Linked DNA regions of Homo sapiens: all the other regions are linked to region 1. Evidence: promoter capture Hi-C in 16 types of primary human blood cells and fetal thymus (Javierre and others, 2016). All regions are on one chromosome and are shown on one strand. Each heading gives the region's core, a stretch centred on a gene start or on the middle of the fragment in contact. The rest is flanking DNA. Distances are from core to core; before and after follow the strand shown.

Region 1 (3,889 bases), core at 1,236-3,735:
TCTATAAGTATTGTCTTACTTAACCCTCTACGAGCTCCACAGGAAGACATCAGCCTCTAGTTTTAAACTCAGGAAACCTTAGGCTTGGGAGGTGAGAAAACCTTCCCTCAGCCTGGAAAGCCTGTAATTCACCTCTATTAAATATTTTTTAAAAGCCAGAAACTTGTATATTCAAAAAAGTAGAAGAATGACTAAAATACATAAGGAGATATCCAAATATCCAAAGCATTGTTTGTTTTTGAGACGGAGTCTCACTCTGTCGCCAGGCTGGAGTGCAATGGCATGATCTCGGCTCACTGCAACCTCTGCTTCCTGGGTTCAAGCAATCCTCCTGCCTCAACCTCCCAGGTAGCTGGGACTACAGGCGCATATGTTGGCCAGGATGGTCTCGATCTCTTGACCTCGCAATCTGCCCACCTCAGCCTCCCAAAGGGCTGGGATTACAGGTGTGAGCCACCATGCTGGGCCAAGCATTTTTAACAACTAAGGATATGGATATAGATGCTTATGACAAGATCATGACAGAATAAAGTATGATAACATTTCTTATGCATACACATAACAGAGGGAAAAATAAAAAAGACTGGAAGGAAATACCAAAGTATAAAGTAGCTACTTCTGGATGGTGGGACTTTTATTTTGTTCTTTTGTTTTTGTGGAATCTTAAAAAATTCACGTGTTACTAATAAAGTCAGGGAAATCAATAACCATCAATGAATAATTCCATGATGTAATGTGTCCAACTGTTTCCTCATTTTAGGGAAAACGATATTGAAGCCTTTGTACAGACAGACCTCAAAAGTTCTCGCCGGGAGTGGTGGTTCATGCCTGTAAGCCCAGCACTTTGGGAGGCCGAGGCGGGTGGATCACCTGAGGTCAGGAATTCAAGAGTATGGCGAAACCCCGTCTCTACTAAAAATACAAAACTTAGCCGGGAGTGGTAGTGGAGCTGCAGGAGAGGCTGAGGCAAGAGAATCACTTGAATCCGGTAGGCGGAAGTTGCAGTGAGCCGAGATGGTGTGCCATTGCACTCCAGCCTAGGCGACAGAGTGAGACTCCGTCTCAAAAAAAAAAAAAAAAAAGTTCTGTGATTACCTACAGTAAAATACTGCATCATCCCAATAAATACATCAAAAAAACCATCAGAAATATCACTGTAAAAGTAACATGCTACTTAGATGTAAAAGTGACATGCTACTTAGAAACTCTGGTACCTACTGCATTATAAACATAAAGCTCATTTACTGAAACTTACCATACCTTAACTGTCCCTTCTAACCTTCCAATCCAAACAGATTTTAGCATATGTCTTACTATAAAACACTAAGTCACTGTCAAGGACCCCAATTTATACGTAAAGGAGAAAGTATAAAGAATTCAAATATCCCGAGGCAGAAAAACGACAGACAGAATTCACACTCAAGTCTTCCTGACTCCAAAGCCTGAGCTCTTCCCAGTTCGCCAATCTTCCCAACTTGTAAACCTTGTGTTGCCGGCCACATAAAGATCCCGCAAAAATCAATCAACAACTAATTAATGGGGGCTGCCTTTTGCTCTAGCTACTGTGGGAGCCCCAGAAGTAGTACCACAAGGCCCTTGACTTCAAGCTTGCATTCTTCTTGAAGAAGGTATTTAAGAGAATGAGATGAGGAACAAGAACACAGGTAAAATTAGATGTAAAAAAAAAAAAAATAGCTATACTGAGGGACCGGTCAGATGAAGGAAGGGCTGAGATTACTATGGGCTGAAGCTGTCATGGAAGGCCTGGATGGGGAAGGCCTTGAAGGAGATGATTATTTTTCGCTCACTCATTCGTCTATCTACACATAACATCTATGTGGCAGGCACCATTTTAGGTGCACTGGCAAACAAAACCAAGTCCTGAATGTGACTGCTGAATAAAGAGTATAAAGGAATGTGCACAGTGAAGGATTTAAGAACGTGGAAGGATCTGGAATCAGATTACCCTAAGTATAATGCCCAGACCTGCAGCCAGGCACTGCGGGCAAGCTCCACGGAAAACAACTGTTGTCACCCACCCATTCACCCCGACTCCCCAGTTACAGGCACTACTTAGAGGTGGTTATCGAGCCACGCAAATCCCCGAGGACGCTCGAGAAGCACGCGCCGAGAGCGGCTGCGTATTGGAGAGGTGATTCTGTTATCTTGGAGCGCCCCAAAAGAGGGGTGGAGGACAAACGGCGTAGGCCAGGTATCCGTCCGGATGCAGAGCCTTCATCCTGAGGCCGGTCCCCTCTCGACCCAGGAAGAACACAGACACCGATCTTGGCATCCATACCCGGCCCTCCCGCGTTGGGTACCTGCGCCCCGAGCCCGGGGGATCCCAGCCAGTGGAGAAGGGGAAGCACGTGGGAGCACGGAACAACTCCGAAAGAGAAGGCACAGCTGACTGCCCCTAGCGTATGCCTGGTGTCCGGGTCACGTAGTAAGCCTGGCTCCGCGGCACGCGTCCCTCTCAGGAACTGGTAGACAGCACGTGCGCAAGCGCATTAAAGTCGCAGAGATGGCGAGCGAGAAGGGACCTTCCTCAAGGCTGTCGCTGAGTAATGACGTAAGCCACCAGAAGCGGAGCTGAGGCCTAGATGTCCACTGCGGTTGCGCATTTTAGTCCCACTGCTCGCGGTAGCTGGGTGTTGGCTGCGGTTTGCCTCTTCACTCTTCATATCCCAGCTAAAGTACCTCGGCTAAGAAGGGCAAAATAGATGTCCGCACCCCAGGGCCTGCCCACGTAGGTCCAGGGTTTTCAGCGTCAGCCTGGTTACGCGAAACGCGACGGATCCAACGATTTGTGTTCAATTTAACCGATCCCCGTTAAGTTGAGGAAACTCGGCCAACAGACCTATTTTATTGGTTTCGCTTGGCCCTCCACCCCCACAGTACTGATCTTACAGATGGGAATCCTGTAATCTACCCATGACTGCGGCCGCTGTACTTTGCAGGCTCCCATTAGGCCTGTATATGGTCGTCAAATGAAATTACTCCCCCTGGGCTTCCAGTGAACTCCAAGAACATGACTACAGGGACAACCTATACATAGTGTTGCATTCTTGACTTTGGGGCAGATCGCTGAACTTCAAAAAACATTATCAACTGCTTGATGTTTCCTCCTGGATACCGCAAATGTCTGAATCCAAACCCCTTCCCCAGATACACTTTTAATGTCATCAGCAGCACTACCCATTTAATCCAACATCCATCATGAAATTTTTTAGTTCATTCAGCAAAATGTGAATATGCCCACGCACTATTCTGCTCACAAGGGATAGTGTCCAAAATGTTCCTGCCCCTCGTGGTTAATTCTAGGTTAAGTTTTAAATGCTATTAAGCAGAAGTATCCAGTGAGTAAAGTGACTAAGGATACTATTTTAGAAACGAACACTGAAGGCCTCTGACGGGGTGACACTGGATGGAACAAGGACCTGAAATTTAGAAAGAATGAGCCCTGAGAATATGAGTGAAAAACTTCCCCGTGCCAAAGATGTACATACAAAAGCTCCAAGATGGGGGAGTCCTGGCAAAGCAGTCAGTGTGGCCAAAGCAGTGGGCAAGTGAAGGACCAGATTTAGAATTTAATTCTAGTCATGATGAGAAACCACTGGAGTTTGTGGGGGACAGGGAAATGAGAAAATCTGCTTTGCCCTCTTAAAAGGCTTCCTGTTATGCAAAAACTAAATCACAGGAAGGCAAAAGTAGAAAAAGGAGAACAATTATAAGCTATTGTAGTCACCTGTGCTAGGATGGTAGTTGTGGTAGTAGTTAGAAGTATAAGATAACTCTGGATATTCAAGTTAGAACCACGTGGACTCACTTAAGGATTAGATGCAGGTTATAAAAGTACATTGAAGATGGCACCCAAAACATTTGCTCT
Region 2 (3,385 bases), core at 243-2,742, 390 kb before region 1:
CCATGTGCCCTTTCAACTTTGAAGGGGAATTCAAAATATAGGAATCCTGGTTTCAAGTTTGAGAACAGTGATTTTCAAGGAGCTTCCTGGAGCTAATACCTTCACCTCCACTCCCAGTAAAACAGGGTTGCTTTTTTCCAGATAAGTTTTAACTTGAAGAAAATATTATTCAACCATAAAAGAATCCTTCAAAGTCTTAGCATGCCCACTCCAAACAATAATCTTGAAGGAGACAAGTGGCCAAAAGCCTGTCAGATTGTTCATCACAAAGTGATGGCCAGGAGTGATCCAGCCCATGAAGACATTTTGACTGGGCTTCCCGTGGTGTTTTGTAAAAACCAAGCCAGTTGCCACACTTGAAAATAGAAATCAGGAGATTTCAGTTAGCAATCTGGTCCTGGCAACACAAGGCCCACCTTTCCACAAGGCAAGGGGTCGGGTAGCCATTGTGCACTTTGGCATGAACTTTCCAATCCCCACTGTCTCCACATGGGGCCACTTCAGGCATAGACATTATCTGCTGACCCTGCGGGCATCTGGTGCACCCACCCAGCTCTGAAAGCTAAAGTCCTCCTTCTGAATTTAAATGCATCTCAGATTATAGCATCACTTGTGAAAATTCCCCTAGAATTTCTGAAAACTCCCTCTAGTTCAATTCTTCCTTCCAATGCAGCTGGCCCTGAAACAAGTGTCCTGACCCACTTCAGACTTCAAAGGAGCTGGCAGAGCCTGCTGCTTAATAATAGTGACCTATGGGCATTCAGATCAAGCCTACCAGGCCCATGATGGTCTACTGGTCGACATAGGCAGAAGGGCCTCATGGCTCAACTTTCCCAAAATGTTGAGATTATTTTATAAATGATAGAAGCGTTGAGAAAAACACTTTACATTTCCAGACAACACAACCCATTAAAAATAATATATTCTGCGGGTATATAACCCCTTATTTGATTGCCCTGAGTTCATGTCTTCCAAGTAGCAAAAGGGTCTTCTTCATGTCTTCATTAAGGTTCTAAACACTATCATCTTCAGTCTCTCCATCCTCTTTCTGATTCTTCAAAGCTAGATTGTATTTTTTATTTTTTCTAGTCAGGCTCTGCTTATCCATTATTTATAATTACAATTACACATATCTACCTTCATCCAAATCTTGCTTTAGTCAGTCTTGAGATGTGTGCCCAACTTGGTCCTCCTCAACCAAGAAGAGTGGGGCGTGGTAAGAGGGAAAATGCCACTTTTCCCTCTTCAGTAGCTCCTTTACTGACAGGCCGCGTGACCTTACAGGGGTCCCGTCAGTCCCCGGAACGGCAATCTCCTCACGTGTAAAGTGGAGAGAGTGACTGTCAGTCACCTGGTCAGTCAGTCACACTCACTGAGGTAGGCCTGTGGTGGGCTAGGCCAGGCTCCAAGCACTCCTGGTTCAGGGCGAGCAAAAGCTCTAGGTCTGGAGGGGAGGGATGAGGAGGACGCCTGATGGGCACTCAGTGAGGAGGAAGAGACCTCTGCGAGGGGGAGTGAGGATGAGCAGAGATTCCTCAGGAGAAGGCAGATGGGGACCACGTTCCATCCAAAGAGAAGTCGCTGTGGGAAGACTCTGGGCCGTGGAGCCTCCTGAAAGAGAAGAGCAGGAGAGGGGCTGGTGAGGAGGGGCTGACAGCGGCGTCCCTCGTCTGGGCAGCCTCCGCTCTGCCACTCTCCTCCCGTCCTGAGGATGGGACCCCCGGAAAAGAGGCCTGCCATGGCACCCAGAGCAGCCATTTTCCTCCCAGTTCTGGGGCTTTGGAAGGAGCTTGCGGATGAGGAGAGGGAGCCTCCGCAGGGCTCTGGCTCCCCTCCAGGGGCCGAGGCCGCACACAAAGCCGCTCTGTGGGTGAGCTTCAAAGCAGAGCGCCGAGGAGCAGGGAGCCAGCGCCAGCAACACCTCCCCGGTGTGGGGCCGACTCCCCGCCTGGGCGTTTCTCCGAATCCTTGAGGCCCCCTTGGCTTCCGCAAACAATATGGCCCTCTTCAAGTGCCAAAGAAAATAACAAGGGGGTGGAAGCAGAGAGGGGAGGGGAGGGAAACGGGAACAGAGCCTTGGCGAAACCTTTCCATGAAATCAACTGTGCCCTCCGACGGCCGCACACCGATGGCCATCTAGGGCAGGGCCCGCAGCTGAAAAATGTCAAGGCTCATAAACATCTCTCACAGGACGCCAGTAAAGTCCAAAAGGCCCCTCAGGTTTACTAAAGCCAGAAATCAGTAGATGAAAGCTCAGGCCGAACTCAGGAATGGCCCCTTGTTCTGCCAGGAACCCCTGCCTGCCCTGAAGAGCCCCCACGGGCCTGGTAAGCCAGCTCCAGCCAGTGGCCAGTGAGCAAGACCTGAGTCATCGGTCTCACCGGCTCCCTGGCTCTTCCTATCTGCCAGGTAGAGGCTACGACATCAGCCTCAAGCACCCTGGCACAATATTGACGCTTTGATCTTAATGCATATAAAATTCTGAAAATTTTTAAATAAAATAAATCAACTGCCCCTCCACCCACCCTTCGGTGGTAAAAGAGATCTCTGGAAGACCTTTGAGTTTTAAGGGGAGCCTCTATTTCCTTTTTTGTGGAATAGCCCAATTACACCTACTGGATAGGATTGTTGAGGGGACCTGAGAAACTTGAGACGACAAGAACGCGTAGCGCCTCGGCTGGCTGAGGGTGCTGAGTGAGTAGTAGCACCTGACAGGCAGAGGACCCACCTCCTGCCTGGAATCATCAGCAACTGACAATGGTGCGAGTTCTACTCACCTTTAAACGCTGCAAATCGCACCACTGCTATTTGCTGTGGGGTATAACATGTGAGGGACCCTTTCTGTCATCGTCACCTTAGCCACTCTCTGCTCTCTGCCTTTCTTTTCAGGCCCTCGTGTTGTGTTCTCTCCAGCTTTCCCCGTGCCTCAGCCACTCTTCACGTTCCATCTCTGCTCTGTGCTGACCCGGTATGGTGGTGTGGGGAGAGCAATGGCTTTCAAGTTCAGGCTAGGGTTCAAATCCAGCTCTGCCACACGCTGGCGTGGGTTCTTGGGAAAGTCCTTCATGACTTTCAAGTTCCTCTTCTGTGATCTCCTGGGGGACGGGGGACCAAACCTGTCCACCATGAATCCTTAACATACAACGTGTGGCTGCACACATAGTAGATATTCAATAATAATGTTTGTAATAGCATTTAAATCCTCCAGGCTCTGTTCCAGGTACTTTTATGTATATTAAGTCATTTAATCTGCAGAACAGCACTATGATACAGGTGCTGTAATTATTCCAATTTTACCAGTAAGGAAACTAAAGCTTTTATTTATTGAATGAAATGAATAAATGAATGAATGTTTTCCATGGCAGATACAATAATTGTTTATGTC
Region 3 (3,589 bases), core at 146-2,645, 330 kb before region 1:
CGCCCCGCCGGCCCGGGGTGCCCGGGATAGCCGAACCCAGGGCGGGGCTCCCGGTTATCAGCATCCTTCAGGCCGCCCTGGGACGCGGCCGTTGGTGGCCTGCCAGTTTTGCAGACGGAATACTTAGACCCTGCTGGGTGGGGCCTTGCGCTCCATAGCTATGCTTTCTCAGCTCTTAAAAAGTCAGCAATCCTGGGTTAAATTACTCTGTACAAAATTAAATTTTGCCATACGCTAATGTAAGTATTATTTGCAACCAAAGGATGGATGGATGCTTTTCTTTTTCTTTCTTAGCTCTTCTTAACTTATTCGTGGATTATCACTTACTAGACTAGTATACTAATTATTTAATATAAAAACACTCTGAAACGTTTATCTCCGTACAGATGGGTGTTGATTTCCTCCTTTACCAGAGAAAAACAACTTAACTTAGATGGGAAAAATGTATTCCCTTGTGATGGGAAAAATGTATTCAACTCTGGTACACTGCCAAATTGGCTTCTTTAAACACTGGAGAAATCTGCTTCCCCAAATTTTACCCCCAGGTAAGCAGGAATTTTGAAAAGCTTTGTGTCTTTAAAAAGCTATGTTGAAGAGTAAAATACTTAGTAATATATAGTACAATATTTAGTAAGTTACTGACTAGTTTGTCATTGTAATCAAAGAGTTTGAATGATTTCTACACCTCCTCAGGTGCTAGGATTTATCTTTAAGCACCTTAATATATATACATAGTATATACCATCATCTTCAAATTAAAAGTTATCAGCTTTTAATTTTTTCCAGTACAACTACATATAATGGGTGGATATATAATAGTGGAAACTTCACATGTTGTTCTTGATCTTACAAAAGTATGATAAGAATCTTGGGCATAAAAGTGGAACTTTAGCAGTTCATTGGAAAAGAAAGCCACAAATTGATCTTTAGCACCCTATACTTTTCCTATATTAAAAACAATTATAAAGATGCTGTTGGCTGTGTAATTTGGTGTCTTTTTCTACCTGCCCGATCCATACTGCCAAGACTGTAAACTCCATGTGGGTCAGGATCCTCCCATCCATAATTTATTGAGCACTTACTATATACCAGGGACTATTCTCAGCTTTTTGTATATTTGCTTAGTTAACCCTCCCAACAACCCTATGAGTTAGATACTAATATTATCTTCATTTTACAGATTAGGAAACAGAGGTATAGGGAGGTTAAATAACTTGCCCAAAGTTACACAGCTATTAAGGGATAGTCAGGATTCTAGCTTCAGCTGTTCATCTCCAAAGTCCACAGTTTGTTGAATAAATAAATGTTGAAATAATCGAGCAAATCATCTTCTTAACTAACCAACACAAATATCAACAAAATAAATAAGAGACCTGGAGTCATTTCTTAACCTTTATTCATTATATAAAAAAAAGCATGTTTTTTTTTCCTTTGTTTTTGTTACTATGGATTTGAATTCCTAAAGAATTATTTCTAGAGAAAGAAATGGAGAAACAAGACTGGTTTCTGATCTTGTCATATCTTGTATTTTAAAATAAAGGGCAGGCTTACAAGTAATGACAATAAATTTATAATGTTACATAGGAGGCTGGGTGCGGGGGCTCACGCCTGTAATCCCAGCACCTTGGGAGGCCGAGGCAGGCGGATCACTTGTGGCCAGAAGTTCGAGACCAGTCTGGCCAACATGGTAAAACCCCACCTCTGCTAAAAATACAAAAATTAGCTGGGCGTGGTGGCACACGCCTGTAGTCTCAGCTACTCAGGTGGCTGAGGCGAGAGAATCACTTGAACCCAAGAGGCGGAGGTTGCAGTGAGCCAAGATTGTGCCACTGCACTCCAGCCTGGGTGACAGAGTGAGGCTTCATCTCAAAAAAATTAAAAATTAAAAAAAGTCACATATTAGGTGGAAGTTCTATCGACTATAATTACAGCTTAAATGAAAACACTTCTTAAAATCAGCCCTAGTTAAAAAATACTTGAAACCAAACCAATACAATTACCTAAAGGTAATTGCAAGTGATTGGTTAGGTAAACAAATTGGGTTCTAGGTTTTAATATTTTAGTCATATGAATTCATGGGTATTTTTATTGATATAAATAAAAATGTTATTTTAAAAATGCTGTTCTCTGAAGTCAATTTTCAGAACTCAATGAAAATAAAATATACTGGCACAAGACATACTGTTATTAATCCTGGTATCAACAAATTTGAAACCAAGCTTGCAAAGTAGACCATGTAACAAATGTTCAAGAAAAACATTTGAGTACTCAGCTAGGAATCTTTATAGACAAATTTTATTTCATCAGTATTGCAAGAAAAGAATGGAGAGAATGAACATCATGTGTTGTTGGATGACAGGCATACAAGACAGCACAAGGGGTAATTACTCTGTTCTGATTCCACCCATCCTCAGAGAGGCCGAGAATGTTCTACATATTTCAGTTTCATTCTCTTCACAGTGGCCTTGTGAGGTAAATTCAGAGTTAGGCAAAAAGGAAGAGAAAAGAACACAACAAGAAACAAAGAGAGTTACAATTCAGTATTGGCTGTTGGCTTTAAGAGAAGAGAATAAACATCACCACAGCTCCATGACTCCTGTTCACTGTGGAACAGGCTTGAGCAAGCCAAAGAAGAAGGTGGGATTTGCTTTAAAAAGTAGCAGTGGTGTTATATGCAGTAGCAGCACATACCTTCTGCTCTGCCTATTTGGCTGCACCATATCTTTCCCGCTTTAATATGAATAATTGCCTACTTGGGAGGAGGCAACCCAGATGTCCTCTGGTGTCTGGTGATGGCCATAGCATGAGCTATGCTAAGGAGAAGAACATGGATGTGCCTTTTCCCGCCTCGGCCTTACGTGCCACGCTACTGATCTGGTGTTTGCAAAAAAAGGAAACATAGGCCAGGCCTGGTGGCTCATGCCTGTAATCCCAGCACTTTGGGAGGCCAAGACAGGTGGATCTCTTGAGGTCAGGAGTTCAAGACCAGCCTGGTCAACATGGCAAAACCCTGTCTCTGCTAAAAATACAAAAATTAGCTGGGCGTGGTGGCTCTTGCCTGTAGTCCCAGCTGCACGTGAGGCTGAGGCAGGAGAATCGCTTGAACCCAGGTGGCAGAGGTTGCAGTGAGCCGGGGTCATGCCACTGCACTCCAGCCCGGGTGACAGAGCAAGACTCCGTCTCAAAAACAAAACAAAACAAAAAACAGAAGAAACATAGAAATAATAATTGGGAATTTGTTTTTACCTTCACTTTTTTTTCTTTTTTTTTTGAGACGAAGTCTCGCTCTGTCACCCAGGCTGGAGTGCAGCGGCAAGATCTCGGCTCACTGCAAGCTCTGCCTCTTGGGTTCATGCCATTCTCCTGCCTCAGCCTCCCGAGTAGCTGGGACTACAGGCGCCCGCCACCACACCCAGCTAATTTTTTTGTGTTTTTAGTAGAGACGGGGTTTCACCGTGTTAGCCAGGATGGTCTCGATCTCCTGACCTCGTGATCCACCCACCTCGGCCTCCCAAAGTGCTGGGATTACAGACGTGAGCCACCTCGCCCGGCCCTTAACTTATTTTTTATACTTACTAATGGAGGCTTG
Region 4 (3,705 bases), core at 443-2,942, 360 kb before region 1:
AGTGCTGAATTAACATTAATGTAACTCCAGTGAAAAAAATGAATTTGATCAATTATTATCAGGAATAAACATTAAGCCATGACGGTGCTCAAGTTATCTTCTGATGACACTGCTGTATTAAATGTACTTTTCCTATGAGAACCTTAGAAAAATAAAAATTTCTGAGTAGATCATCTTTATCTTTTCTTTTTATATATTTATAGCCATATTTTAATATAATAGGCCATGAGGTGATATGTAAACATACATAATTTCAACAAATTTTGTCAAATAAAATCATATTTCTAGCTAGAAACTTGCCTTCTAATCATTTTAAATGAATAATCCAATCATCCGTCAAAACAAATTTTTTTTTTAAATGACTGTTAAATCCTAACCTTCATTTTCCCCTGGGGAAATAGCATTAAAATTGTTACACAATCTGCTATAGAAAGTGGGATTCTCTATTTTGAAGCCACTAGCTTGCATTTGCACATCTAGCACAGGAGAATCTTCATCCAGTGATGAGCGGGTTACACGGATGAACGCTAAGCTTCGCTGCACAGGTGCAGGGCCCCGGCCTCACAGATTTGCCTTCTCCCTTGCCGCCAAGTGAGATCCGGACTGCACAAAGGTGTGAATCGCATTCTGTTTTAAAAGAACAAGATGAGCAGGTTAATCACCTCATGGGCAGCAACGTGATATTTACTCAGTTTTAATATGTATGCAAATGAAAATAATAATTCAGAATTCATTCACTTTAACTGTCTTAAATTGCCCAGCGCTAAAATGAAGAGTATGTGTTTTGCCAGTGAATTCTTTATCTCTCAAATGAATTTCTGCACAGCTGCCTAAGAAATCTAACAGTGGCAGGTAATGGCCCCTGCAGACTGTAATGCTAAGTGGTAACTAAGTCATGCCTACTCCAACCCAGCACACACAGCCTCTGCATGGCCAGGCTGCTCCCAGCTTACCTTAGGCTTCTCAGCATTGTACTTGTCCAGAAGAGCCTGGATGTGGCTCCCGTAGTCAGGGTGGACCTCAGTGAAGTTCTTGACCTAAGGCCAAAGGAAAATAAATGCAAGCATTACTCTAACTCCCTACTATATCACTCCCCAGGGACTGTGGTTTCCCAGTGTTTATTCCATAGGGGAGGAAAGACGTTTCAGCAGGAGGCAGTACTACAGGTGTTTAACAATGCCAGCCTCAGAGTTAAGATGCAGGTCCAGTGAACACTCTGACATATACTGGCTGAGCAACCTCGGATAGGTCACTTAACTTACTGAGCTTATGTCCCTCTGCCGAAATGCGCAAGAAAATGACACCTAATCAGTATAATTTTAAAAATACTATTTGGTCTTTGTCCCCCATTCCTGACACAGATCTAAAACCCTTCGAATGTACTGTCTTTTATATACTACTAAGATGATTCATGGGGGCCTACATAGATTCCTGATGGAGGCTCACACCAGGAAGAACAAGCACGCGATCAGAAGGTTAGAACTTCTAGCCCCACCCCCAAACCTCCAGGGATGGGAGAGGGGCTGGAGATTGTATTCAATCACCCATAGCCAATAATTTCATCAATCATGCCTATGTCATAAAACCTCCAGAAAAACCCACAACTGGCAAGGTCAGGGAGTGTCTGGATTAGTGCACACATCCAGGAGCTAGAAGGGTGGTCCACTCAGGGAGGCACAGAAGCTCCGAGGCCTTCCCCCATGCCCCTCTTCCATTTGTCTATTCCTGAGTTGTATTCTTTATAATAAATTGGTAATCATAAGTAAATCATTTTCCTGAGTTCTATGAGTCTTTCCAGCAAATTATCAAACCTGAGGAAAGGGTTTGATTTGCAGTCAGAATCTGCAGAAGTGTGCATAGCCAGGGTACCTCATTTGTTATCTAAAGTGGGAAATGACCCCTAAATCTTTGGGTTCTGACTCTAGCTCCAGGAGCTACTGTTAGAATTGAATTGAGTTATAGGACACACAGTTACTGTCAAAGAATTACAGAATTGCTTATTGTCGGGGAAAAAAACCCATACAACCTAGGCCAGGCGCAGTGGCTCACGCCCGAAATCCCAGCACTTTGGGAGGCCAAGATGGGTGGATCACCTGAGGTCAGTAGTTCAAGACCAGCCTGGTTAACATGGCAAAACCCCATCTCTACTAAAAACACAAAAATTAGTCGGGCATGGTGGGGCATGCCTGTAGTCCAAGCTACTGGGGAGGCTGAGGCAGGAAAATCTCTTGAACCCAGGAGGCAGAGGTTGCAGTGAGCCGAGATCATGCCACTGCAGTCCAGCCTGGGTGACAGAACAAGACTCCATCTTAAAAAAAAAAAACCCACACAACCTACCTCACAGGATGCTGTGAGAAAAATGCTGAGAAGTGAGGTGCATTTACTGCATGAAAAGAGCTGACCTCAGAGTAAGCGCTTAACAAATTACAGTGATTTACATTGAGAAACGGGCCCAGACACAGCCTAAAGTTAATGTGAAGGATACAAGAACACTGGTACATGCAGCACAACTCCACACACTTCAGGCAGGAATTCCCCAGTGGACAGCAAGAGGAGGCAGGGCATTGGGAACCCATAAAAGCCTTACAGTTTCAGCATATGTGAAAGGAGAATGCCAAGGGTTCCAGCCCAGTTCTGCTATTTACAAGCTGTCGTATCCATTCTCTCCAGTAAAAGGAGATAAATCCTGCCCTGCCTACCACACAGAGCGCCTGTCAAGCTCTCTGCTGATACTGGAACCCAGGCTCTGGGACACAGCCCAGACAGCTGCTAGCCCAGCTGCCCCTAGGAACTGAGAAGCAGCAACTAGGGGCCAAGGAAAAAGGGGGATTTCTAGATTTGCAAAAAGCTTAGCTCTGGGACAGGCCAGGAAACCAGAAGTGAGAGGGCTTCACTCAGCTCGATGAGCGGCCATCAGAAATACCCCAGCACCTTAGCATGAAAGTCTAGCCTGCCTTTTGGAAGCATTGCAGTTCTTATTCCAGAAATCATGCAAATTTCTAGTCTGCATCTGAAGGAGGATCGAGGTATTATGACATTAAGCCTTTAGGCAGGTTTTAAACCATAAAAATGCAAAAAAGAAAGACAGACTGATTGACTGATTGACTGATTTTAGAGACAGGGTCTCCCTATGTTGTCCAGGCTGGCCCTGTATTCCTGGGCTCAAGCGATCCTCCCATCTCAACCTCCTAAGTAGCTAGGACTACAGGTGCATGCCATCACACCGGCTGATATATTTATTATCATCCAAAGTTTAAGTAGAATTGCAGCAGGACTCACATTTTGATATTGCACATTTACTATCTTGCACAGAACTTGGCTGCAGCTGAATTAAACAGAATAGGACAAAATTCAGTCTGAACACAACTAAATTAGTACACACTGGACAAACAGCTAAGGACGATGGATATGCCAGACCAGATAAAACATGGAAAGAAAATAATCAGAAGTTGGTTGGGGATTACTAGTTTATTTTTTTTTTTTTAAGTTCTCTTAAGTCAAGTAAAACAGAAATGGCACTTTCTTTTTAGGGTTCTCCCACACAGCTGCACTGTCTTCCTTAGCCAGCAGAGGACACCCTTCAGCTTACAAAGACTCACCGCTTTCTTCTGGATGAAAATTTGTGCATCCTTCAGGTGGCCGGCAATGTTCTCACACAGACGTTTCCTCTGTTCCTCATTCAGCACGTTCACATAGAATGCCCGC
Region 5 (3,588 bases), core at 170-2,669, 270 kb after region 1:
CTTTCACTCCGCTCATGAGGCACCCACTTATCGAGCTTTTTCATCTTTCCAATTTGCTTTCAGTGCCGAACAACAGTAGGATGGTCGACGCTGAGTTTTTCGGCAACTTCTCATGTAGTTGTAAGAGGATGAGCTTCAGTGATGGCTCTCAATTAGTCATTGTCAGCTTCCGACGGCTGGCCACTACATTCCTCACCTTCAAGGCTCTTGTCTCCTTTGCAAAACTTCTTGCACCACCACCGCACTGTATGTTTGTTAGCAGTTCCTGGGCCAAACGCACTGCTGATGTTGCGAGCTGTCTCCGCTGCCTTACAACCCATTTTGAACTCAAATAAGAAAATCACTCGAATTTGCTTTTTGTCTAACATCATTTCCATAGTCTAAAATAAACATAAAATAAACTAGCAAAAAAACATAAAGCGAGAAATGCCCATTAAAATGATGTATACGGTAACCACATTTATTTACATTCTTAAATGTAAATAAGAATTATGTTCTTAATTTTATCTTTTCTTGCCTTATGTTTTATTCCAATATCAAACGGAAAATTCTAACAATGCAAAAACCGCAATTACTTTTGTACCAACCTAATATCTATATATATATATATACACACATGAATAATTTGTTATATAATTTGATTTTTTTTTTTTTGAGACAGAGTCTTGCCCTGTCACCCAGGCGGGAGTGCAGTGGTGCGATCTCTGCTCACTGCACCCTCTGCCTCCCAAGTTCAAGAGATTCTCCTGTCTCAGCCTCCTGAGTAGTTGGGATTACAGGTATGCACCACTATGCCTGGCTAATTTTTGTATTTTTAGTAAAGATGGGGTTTTTCCACGTTCGCCAGGCTGGTTTCAAACTCCTGACCTCAGGTGATCCACCTGCCTCGGCCTCCCAAAGGGCTGGGATTATAGGCGTGAGCCACAGCACCCAGCCTAATTTGATTTTTTAAAAACCCAAATATAAGCTTCATATTTATTTCTGCAAAATTCCGTCTACTGGATTACACAGTGTCAATTACAGCCTAACTTTCAGTTGAAAAGCTAGAATCTTCAGAGATTCCCCCAGGGGCCATGGAGGATGGGCTGTTGAGGGTCCCTGATTTCCTCTGCTCTTCCAGAGAAGAGCCACCTGCTAGTCTTCTCCCTCTGAGAGAGAGATTAGGCTTCCATGGCAGTGGAGAAGGTAGAGGGGGCACGAGAGATAACTTCCTGAACACCTCTGCCTCTAACTTCCTACATTGTCCTCTCTGATCCTCATACAGCCAGGAGTGGTGAGTCAAGCAGGTGCTATTGTGCCTGATTCACAAGTGAAGTTACTGAGTTATAACGAGGTGAAGGGTCAAGTTCTAGGCACTTCTCCAACTGTAATGTACATGAGGATCACCTGGGGATCTTGTTAAAATGCACATTCTGATTCAGTGGGTTGGGTGTGGGGCCTAAGATTCTGTATTACTAAGAAGCTCTTGGGTGATGCTGGAGACCACGAGCCTCTCGGTGAAACAGCAGGTGAGATGCTTTAGGGCCAGTTCTCTGGATAGAGGTGGGAGTCGCAATCACATTGCCCCTAGCTCCTCCTGCCACTAAATTTGGCCACTTCTATTTGGAAGTTGGGAGAGGATTATCCTATTGCAGTACTGTGTCTAGAGGGGAAGGTGACTCATGTCCCCTGCTCCTTCCCCAGGCAGAACTCAGAGTTCTTTGTGTCTTGTCTGCTCCTTGCCTGAGCTTTTTGGCTATTTCTTTTTCTAAACTTGAATAAAATACAACAGCAAGAAAATAGCAATGACTCCTGTTGGAGTCCAGTATAGCTGAGATCACCTGATTTTAAGTCGGGCTCAGGTGAGGCAACTTGTTATAATGGAAAGCTTTTAGCTTCCAGAGTTAGACACCTGGGTCCAAATCCTGGTTCTGCCCCTTACAAAATATAAATAGAAGGAAAATGTACTTAAATTTCTTGGCTGGGTGCGGTGGCTCATGCCTGTAAGCCCAGCACATTGGGAGGCTGAGGCTGGTGGATCATTTGAGGCCAGGAGTTCATGACCAGCCTGTCCAACATGGCAAAACACTGTCTCTACTAAAAATACAAAAATTAGCCAGGCGTGGTGGTGCATGCCTGTAGTCCCAGCCACTCGGGAGACTGAGGTATGAGAACACTTGAGCCTGGTGGGTGGAAGTTGCAGTGACCTGAGATCGCACCACTGCACTCCAGCCTGGGTGACAGAGCGAGAATTTGTCTCTAAATAAATAAATAAATGAATAATAAATTGGCCTCAGCTAAAGTGGCAGACTTCCATCCTGACCCTTACTCTGCCCAATAACCCCACTGGAGGGCAGCCCATTTCAGGTTACCCTGCAACATCACCAGAATTCTCAGAATGCTCAGTCTGCAATTCCAAGTTATTCCAAAGCTAAGTCAGTCTGATGTTCTGGGAAGAGAAGCTGAAAGCCCAGCACTTAGGGGAAGTTTGGCCTCCAGGGCATCCCTACAGGTTGTACTCACTGATGGGTGGCATGGTGTGGGGGATGATGGGAACTCAGTTGGGTCTGAGGACAGAACCTCCCTATCCCTTGATGTTAAGTTAGCCAGAGCACACCACCACCAGCCCACATATGATGCTAAACCTCCTTTCCCAGGCAGCCCACACCAACTTCTTCCAGGAGTCGATGTTTCCTATGGAAAATGGATTAAATAAGAATCTCCTTGAATTCATCAGACAGCCCTGAACTCTGATGTCCTGTTGGTCCTGATCTTGACTCCACCTCTCTCCTTGAGGGAACTGGTGTTCTATGGCTAGGACAGACTCGAATCTGAGACTGGGCACATCTGGGGCTCCAATCCACATGAAGTGAGAGAATAACCGGATAAAAAGTGAGTATAAATTGCCATGTCCAAAACAAAATCAAAGCCAGGCTTTCTGGAGTGGAAAGTGCAGAAGAAACTTGTAAAGGGGAGGCCAAACCTAGAGCTGACCCTCATATTCGTGGATTTGCCTTTGTGTTTTCTCATTGGTTTTCCTGCCACCACCATTTTGGCCACACAGGGGCACTGCTTACCCTTGCTATTCTCTTAACTCCTTCTAAGGAGTCTGCCTCAAGACTGAAAAGTTCGAATAGGACCTTAGCAAATGCCAAGATGACATGTAAACTCAAAGCAACATGGGTTATAAGCATGGCCATGAAGATGCCGAGATCATAGGGTCCAGAGCTCCCCAGTTAACCCAGTTGCGCCGCTGAAAGGGGCAGAACTCAATTCCTCTTGGTGGAACTCGGGAACAAGAAGGGAAATGAATGCGGAGAAAACCAGGATCCAGGTAATCTGATTTCCAAAGGGCCGTTCTATCGCTGCGGCTTGGGGTTCCGCCCAGGTGTCCGCGGGTCCAGGTGTGGGGGCCGCCCCCTCCCCCCGCCTTGGGAGGCGCTGGGACCTGGCTCCGGGACCGCCTGCCGCGCTGACAGGGACGGGCAGCTTTCGAAGCCTGGCTCTTTGGAGGCTCGGTGTGGGGAGTCCCTGGCTGCGGCCCTGGGCTGCAGGGTCACCGCGAGCCGAGCTGGGGCGCCGAGGGGGAGGCACCGACGCCCCGCTTTC
Region 6 (3,679 bases), core at 282-2,781, 350 kb before region 1:
GAGCTAATATATTAAGTAGTACAATAACACTGCAATACCTTTCTGATTTTAACTGAATCCTTTAGGTTTAGAAAAGAATAATCTTAGGTCAGAATAATCCAGACTGATGAATCCATGTAGATCTCAGGCTACCTTAGGGCCCTAGGATAAAAGACCCACAAGCAATCCAATCTTTCCAGGACTTGTATAGCTGGTAATATTATGCCAACTTCACAGTGAAAAGAACTGGAGCTCAAAGAACTTTTAATACTATGCCCAAGGCCACAATTATCTAGGAGAGTAGAAATTTGAGTTCAGGCTGGCATAACTCCAAGGCTACCAACTAGACTGGCTGTCCTAGATACAACCACTTAGTCTTATTCTAAGTAATACTACATTGACCCTTTTGGCAATTACAAGCCAATGGGTCAACTGTTTCATAAAATTTTTCCTTGTCAAATATTATAGATCCAAGTTATGAATATAAAAAGAGGTGATAGTTTTCCTGTTTGATATACCTACATTAAATTGTTCAGATAAAGAAGAAAGCAGGATAGAAGAAAATAGGGCTTTTGGATGTCACTAAGAGAGAGATTATCCAGTACTGGTCACGAGCCCACTTCTTTCTGCTTATCTTAGCAGCAGTATTTGGAAACAGAGGTTCTCAGGCTTGTTTCTGACTAGCCCTTGGGAGTTCTCTGGGAATATCACTAACATGCCAGGGTTCACTGGCAATATTGCTCATTGTAACAAATGCCATGCTTATACCAAAAGAGGGCCCTTTATAATATTTCAGTTGATTAAAACATTCTCAAAACCCTCCCCAGATGTAACTGATTTGATCTGGCTATATGAATGCAAATTTTTAAAAACAGTATAATTTTGTTTTCTGACATTTGTAATTGATTTTACTTATATGCCTTGTTCATAATAAAACCTCAATAAATGCTAAGTAAATAGATGGATGACTTAAAAAGTTAAAAGAAATGATATTGGAAAGACACTATTGGATGTTGGAAGTGATAATGAGATTGGGATACGCTCCAAGGTCCTCAGATGGTAGCCAACAAAATCAGTACTGATCAATGAGATCAATACTTCCCAACTTTGGGGATGGAGGTGAGGGAAAAGTGGGAGAAGCCTTAATCTTTGCTCAATCCTTCAGGAAAAATAAGGAGGTATGCGGTAGGAGCCTTGTACCCTCTGCCCCAAAGGTAACACATACCTTATAATGGAATTTGCAATAAACTGCCTCCCCATTTGCATTAACCAGCTTGAAAGTATGTGATCCATATCCATTCATGTGGCGATGTCCATCTGGAATCCCCCGATCACTGAACAAGAAAGAAACCTAAAGAACAGAAATATAAAGCCTAAAATGTTTTCATTTAAATCAAAACATCCTTGATTTTTAAGATATTCCTTAGTTTCCAGAAAGTCCCTTAATGACATAAAACATACTAGCCAATTTCCCATGGGAAGGGTTACCATTATTATTTCACTTGTAGAAAATAACAAACAGAAAAATTTTAAATCAAAATGATATGCAAATCACTAATACTATGACTCAAAATTCTATGAAGGAAAGCCAAAACAACCTGAAAACTGGCCTAATTTGTTATTCAAAATTTATTTGCATAGCAAATTTGTTTGGTACTACTTTCCCCCCACTTCCTTAATACAGAGCTTTACCTTACACTACAGACTTTCATCCTTACTACTGCTAAATATCAACTGACAATGTTGCTAGCTATCTATCATCATCATCATCATCATTTAAGGCCGATGAATGGGGGATGATTAGTAAAGCCAGTTACTACAAAACTCTTCACGATCAAGAAATCTGAGGAAGCTGATTCCAATAAAATAGCCAAAACTGGAGAGACACTTTATGAAGAGGCATAATTAAACACTGCATCCCAGGTGATATAATACAATGGCAAAAAAGGGTTCATACCTGATGCAGAGACTCAGGACGTAGGCTCCAGAAGTCCCAGACCATGTCCGGATCCTTCAGATGTGTCTGAGGATTTCTCTTTTGGCTGTGGATAAAAGATGGAAACTAAATAGAAAAAAGAGAGAAAAAAATCCAAAAACTAAGTTTACAGGAATTATGGTGTCTTTCATTATATATGCCTATTACTAGGTTTATGGATTATAATTCTAAATACAATCCTAGAATTTTAAACTGCCAAACCATAATATGAAATTTACTCAGCATAGACAACTAGCATCTAAGATACCCTAAAGTATTTCAAATATACTCAAAACTATAGTCTTTTCTTTTTTTTTTTTTTTAAGACAGGGTCTCACTCTGTCACCCAGGCTGATTGCAATGGCATGATCACAGCTCACTGCAGCTTTGACCTCCTGGGCTCAAGCAAATCTCCCACCTCAGCCTCCCAAGTAGCTGGGACTATAGGCATGAGCCACCACACTTGGCTAATTTTTGTATTTTTTTGCAGAGATATGGTTTTGCCATGTTGCCCAGGCTGGTCTCGAACTCATGGACTCCAGTGATCTGCCTGCCTTGGCCTCCCAAAGTGCTGGGATTTATAGTATTTCTTCACGGAAAAAATATACCCACCCTCCCGCATGCGCGCACGCACACACACCCCCTCCTGCTGACTCAGAGCATGTAGAGACACCCTCTGCTTGTTTCCAAAGTAAAGTCCCTCTTTTTACTAATCTTCGATGCTCTGCAAGGAAAACTAAACTCACTTCCCATTAAGTCAATCTGTCTTAAAATGACAAATCTAAGACCAATGGTAACTGTTCTTACTTTATCTTATTAAATACAGAAAAATGTGTTGAAAAAAGTAGTCCAGACAACTCGCATTCTTTTCTTTCTGCCTTTCCCACGGCTTCTCCTCAAATGCCAACCTATTTGAAATCAATTTAAGTCAACAAACATTTGTTGAGTGCAAAATACTCTATTACCTACCAATATGGGATCCCTGATGAAGAAAATGGGGGTGTTATTTCCAACGAGATCCCAGTTACCATCTTCTGTGTAAAATTTCACTGCAAACCCACGAGGGTCCCGAACTGTGTCAGCTGAACCCGATTCTCCAGCTACAATATTCAAATGGAAACAGGAAGCATAAGCCACAGCACTTTGCATCCAAGAAGCCTGGAGACATAAAGAAGCACCTGGATCCATCCTTTCTAATCCACTTCCAAGAACTAAATTAGGTATTTAAGTGCCCGGGTTATTATTTCTACCCACCAGCTAATTCAGTCCACAAATCAAACAAAATAATTAATTGAGAGCAATAAGAGAACACATGTAATAACAGCTGACAATGTCATTCATTTACCATAATAAGATAACTTTGTTCAAACAGGTAATTGAACTTTTAATTAAAATAAGGGAAGAAAATAATTATGAGGCTTAAAGTAGTGACAAACAGAATAAGTGAGTTGTCAAAATGATGAGGTTAACATTAAGAAAATGAGTTAAAATATTGGTTCTTAGTTCTTAATTTCATTTATTTTTACATTCCACAGTATTTTTAAAATGCAGAGACTGACACAGAAACGGAACTAGTGAAGCACTAGGTATGTTGAAATATAGTATGATAGATCTAATACTATCTCTGTAACGTGAGAAACATCACTTAGCCTCTCAAAAATAAAAAGAATCCCACTCTGCAAAGTAGATCTACAAATCAGAGATTATATCTGTAAAGCACCTAAC
Region 7 (3,760 bases), core at 1,081-3,580, 310 kb after region 1:
TCATTAAATTTTTTTCCTATAGAGCTGTTTGAGCTCCTTCTATATGCTAGTTTTAATCCCTGTCGGATGGGTAGTTGCAAATATTTTCTCCCAATCTGTAGGTTGTTTCTTCACTTTATTGATTGTTTCCTTTGCTGTGAAGAAGCTTTTTAACTTGATGTTATCACATTTGTCCATTTTTGCTTTGCTTACCTGTGCTTATGGGATATTTATTACTCAAGAAATTTTTGCCCAGACATGGCCAGATGTGATGGCTCATGCCTGTAATCCCAGACTTTTGGGAGGCTGAGGCAGGCGCATTGCTTGAGCCCAGGAGTTTGAGACCACCCTGGGCAACATGGCAAAACCCCATCTCTACCAAAAAAGTACACAAATTAGCCAGGCGTGGTGATGCATGTCTGTAGTACATCAACTCCCTCCAACTACTTGGGAGGCTGAGGCAGGAGGATCGCTTGAGCCCAGGAGGTTGTGGTTGCAGTGAGCCATGAGCATGCCACTGTACTCCAGCCTGGGTGACAGAGTGAGACCCTGTCTCAAAAAAAAAAAAAGAATTTTTTGCCCCGACAAATTTCCCTAATGTTTTCTTGTAGTAGTTTCATAGTTTAAGGTCTTAGATTTAAGTCTTTAATCCATTTTGATTTGATTTTTGAATATGAGGAGAAATAGGGGTCTAGTTTCATTCTTCTGCATATGCAGTGATTGCTTTCTAATTTCATTCCATTATGGTCTGAGAACATACTTTGTATTATTTCAATCTTTTAAAATTTATTGAGATTTGTTTTATGGTCTATACTGGAGAATGTTTCATGAGAAGAATGTGTATTCTAGTATTCTCGGGGGAGTATTCTATAGATGTCTGTTAAGTCTTGTTTATTTGTGTGTTGCTTAAGTCTTCTATTTCTTGTTAATATTCTGTCTAGTTGTCTTGTCTAGTGTTGAAAGTCAGGTACTGAAATCTTCAACTATTATTGTAGAAATGTTCATTTCTTCTTTCAGTTCTATCAGTTTTTGCTTCATAGGTTTTAAGGCTGTTAGGTGCATACATGTTTATAATATTTCTATCTTTTTAATGGATTAATCCTTAATTGTTATAAATTGTATTTGTCTCTAGAACAATTTTTGCCTTAAAATCCATTTTGTCTGTTATTAATACAATCACTCCAGCTCTCTTTCGGTTATTTTTCCTTAGTATAGCTTTCCATTCTTTTACTTTCAACCTATTTGTTTGTTTGGTTCTAAAGTGTTCTCTTTAGTCATAATATGGTTGGATCATGTTTGTTTGTTTTTTAGTCCTTTCTGCCAATCTCTGCCTTTTAATTGGAATGTTTAATCCATTTATATTTAATCCAGTTATGGATACAGTAGGATTTATGCCTGCCATTTTGCTGTTTGTTTTATACAAGTCCTGTATCTTTTTAAAATTCCTCTAGCCTCTGATTTTTCTTTATTCATGTGATCTCAGAGCCATTTACTGAAAAAATTCAAACTTTCCTTCACTGATCTGTTATAGCACCTTCACCATATATTACATTGTCCATATATTCCTATTGCTTTTCTGAGCTGTCTATTCTAACGCATTAGTGTATTTTTTTCTATCTCTACGACAATACTGCCCTGAATTAATTGTTATAGATTTATATCTGGTAGGGCAATTCTCCCCATCATATTCATTTTCATCAAGAGTATTTTGGCGTTTTTTTGGACTAGTGCTTTTTCATCCAAATATTTAAATAAGCTTGCCAAATTTTACCAAAATATCCATTGAGATTTGTATTTTTATTGTTGGATGTTCAGATCAATTTGTGATCATTTATATTTCTATGATATGGAGTTTTTAAATCAATTTATTTGTAGTAAGTTAAAAAGTTATAGCTCTTCATTTATTTAGGTATTTTAAAATGCCTTTTATTGGTTTTATAATTTTTTCCAATAATTCTTGCATAAGTTTTGTTAGATTTCTTTCCAGGTTCTATTTTTCATTGCTATTGTAAATGTTACCTTTTTAAATTTCAGCTTTCTAATTGTGTGGTTTATGTATAGAAATATATATTTTTTTCTTTTTGAGACAGAGTCTCACTCTGTTTCCCAGGCTGGAGTGCAGTGGCACAATCTTGGCTCACTGCAGCCTCTGCTGCCTCCCGGGTTCAAATGATTCTTGTGCCTCAGCTCTGAGTAGCTGGGACTACAGGCATGCACCACCATGCCCAGCTAATTTATTTGTATTTTTAGTAGAGATGGGGTTTCACCATGTTGTCTAGGCTGATCTTGAACTCCTGAGCTCAGGCAATCTGCCTACCTTGGGCTCCCAAAGTGCTAGGATTACAGGCATGAGCCACTGTGCCTGGCCTAGAAATATAATTTAATATATTGATTTTATATTCAGGAAACTGAAGATGCACTCATAGTAACTAACATTTTTATGTAGATTCTTTTGGGTTTTCAAAACACATAATGATATAATCTGCAAATTATACAGTTTTATTTCTTCTTTCCAATATCTTTTACCATATATTTTATTTTCTTGCCTTACTTCACTGACTATTTAGTACAATGTTGAATTTAAGCAGTGATAGTGGACATTCCTGTCTCATTCCCAGTCTCAAAGGGAATGTTTCCAATATTTCATCATAAATATGTTAGACACAAAAGACTATCTATTGTATGAGTCCAGGCATAGGACATTCTAGAAAAGGCATAACTCATCTATAGTGACCGCAGATCAGCAGTTGCTTGGGGCTGAGGCTTGGGGAGGAACTGGCAGCAAAGAGGCACAAAGGAATTCTCTGAGGGTATTGAAAATGTAGAACATTGTGATAATGGTTACACAGGCTTATACACCTGTCAAAACTCATTGAACTGAAAGCATAATATTGTATATAAATTATACCTCAATAGAGTTGGTTAAAGCACCCTAAGAAAGCTTTCTTCTCTCTACTGTACTGTATATACAAAAAGGTTTTGGGACTCTCACCATATACATGTGATTCTATTTCAGGTTTCTTCATTCTGTTTCATGGATCTGTCATTTATTTCACTAATACCACACTGTCTTGATAATTGCAGCTTTTTTTTTTTTTTTTTTTTTTTTTTGAGATGGAGTCTCACTCTGTTACCCAGGCTGGAGTGTAGTGGTGCAATCTTGGCCCGCTGCAACCTCTGCCTCCCAGGTTTATGCCTACATAAAGCGATTCTCCTGCCTCAGCCTCCCAAGTAGCTGGAACTACAGGTACCTGCCACCACGTCCGGCTAACTTTAGGTATTTTTAATAGAGACAGGGTTTTACCATGTTGGCCAGGCTAGTCTCAAACTCCTGACCTCAAGTGATCCACCTGCCTTGGCCTCCCAAAGTGCTGGGATTGCAGCCATGAGCCACCGCGTCCAGTCTGACTGCAGCTTTTATTAAGTCCTGAAGTTAAGACCTCCAGACTTTTTCTTTCTGAAGATTGTTTTGGCTATTCTAGGTCCTTTGCCTTTTTGACTAAATTTTAAATTCAGTTTGTCAATTTCTATGTATGGAATATATTTTTGTTACACAAATCAAATTTGCTGTTGCCTTTCCCTGAGGAGAATAGGTCTCTCCTAGGACAGCTTCACCTTGTTTCCTTCAAGGAGGCAGCATGGTAGAACAGGAAGAGGAGGTGCTTTGGAGATGGATCCATCATGTGTTTCCAGCACACTGCTTCCTGATTTTGTCTCTTTAAGCATGTCTCTTGGCGTCTCTGAGACTCAACTTCACTAACTACAAAATATGAGTATGGGG

Evidence for each region. Contacts are between HindIII fragments. The CHiCAGO score rates a contact against its expected background, and 5 or more counts as called.
Region 2: a fragment that was not itself captured here is called in contact with the fragment with the promoter of NAT10 in region 1 in 4 of 17 cell types (megakaryocytes, erythroblasts, M0 macrophages and 1 more); the score reaches 9.3 in megakaryocytes.
Region 3: a contact is called between a fragment that was not itself captured here and the fragment with the promoter of NAT10 in region 1, in 11 of 17 cell types (fetal thymus, total CD8 T cells, naive CD4 T cells and 8 more). The highest score is 14.0, in fetal thymus.
Region 4: a fragment that was not itself captured here is called in contact with the fragment with the promoter of NAT10 in region 1 in 3 of 17 cell types (erythroblasts, fetal thymus and neutrophils); the score reaches 8.9 in erythroblasts.
Region 5: a contact is called between a fragment that was not itself captured here and the fragment with the promoter of NAT10 in region 1, in 2 of 17 cell types (megakaryocytes and erythroblasts). The highest score is 6.3, in megakaryocytes.
Region 6: a contact is called between a fragment that was not itself captured here and the fragment with the promoter of NAT10 in region 1, in 1 of 17 cell types (erythroblasts). The highest score is 5.3, in erythroblasts.
Region 7: a contact is called between a fragment that was not itself captured here and the fragment with the promoter of NAT10 in region 1, in 1 of 17 cell types (erythroblasts). The highest score is 5.4, in erythroblasts.

What each region holds. Positions count from the first base shown.
Region 1 is chr11:34,104,225-34,108,113 of GRCh38, reverse strand. It overlaps NAT10 (N-acetyltransferase 10), which reads right to left and starts at 2,485. Exons shown (of 29, transcript NM_024662.3): 1 at 2,322-2,485. RefSeq lists an enhancer at 2,273-2,732. The HindIII fragment of the contact is 3,708 bases long and covers 1,610-3,889 here.
Region 2 is chr11:34,494,730-34,498,114 of GRCh38, reverse strand. The region is part of intron 2 of ELF5 (E74 like ETS transcription factor 5); the gene reads left to right. Among named protein-coding and RNA genes, the nearest start is that of ELF5, 17 kb to the left of the region's middle. RefSeq lists an enhancer at 1,468-1,967. The HindIII fragment of the contact is 3,648 bases long and covers 1-3,316 here.
Region 3 is chr11:34,435,121-34,438,709 of GRCh38, reverse strand. LOC105376622 (a long non-coding RNA gene) reads right to left here. Exons shown (of 3, transcript XR_931180.3): 3 at 2,388-2,464. Among named protein-coding and RNA genes, the nearest start is that of CAT, 2.0 kb to the left of the region's middle. The HindIII fragment of the contact is 1,653 bases long and covers 569-2,221 here.
Region 4 is chr11:34,468,290-34,471,994 of GRCh38, reverse strand. It overlaps CAT (catalase), which reads right to left. Exons shown (of 13, transcript NM_001752.4): 11 at 3,600-3,705; 12 at 954-1,037; 13 at 1-627. The coding sequence ends at 562. Among named protein-coding and RNA genes, the nearest start is that of CAT, 31 kb to the right of the region's middle. The HindIII fragment of the contact is 2,316 bases long and covers 535-2,850 here.
Region 5 is chr11:33,829,171-33,832,758 of GRCh38, reverse strand. No RefSeq gene overlaps it. Among named protein-coding and RNA genes, the nearest start is that of LINC02721, 8.6 kb to the right of the region's middle. RefSeq lists a silencer at 2,973-3,062. The HindIII fragment of the contact is 900 bases long and covers 970-1,869 here.
Region 6 is chr11:34,451,452-34,455,130 of GRCh38, reverse strand. It overlaps CAT (catalase), which reads right to left. Exons shown (of 13, transcript NM_001752.4): 4 at 2,924-3,054; 5 at 1,937-2,041; 6 at 1,205-1,330. Among named protein-coding and RNA genes, the nearest start is that of CAT, 14 kb to the right of the region's middle. The HindIII fragment of the contact is 9,504 bases long and covers 1-3,679 here.
Region 7 is chr11:33,792,658-33,796,417 of GRCh38, reverse strand. No RefSeq gene overlaps it. Among named protein-coding and RNA genes, the nearest start is that of LINC02722, 10 kb to the left of the region's middle. The HindIII fragment of the contact is 1,185 bases long and covers 1,738-2,922 here.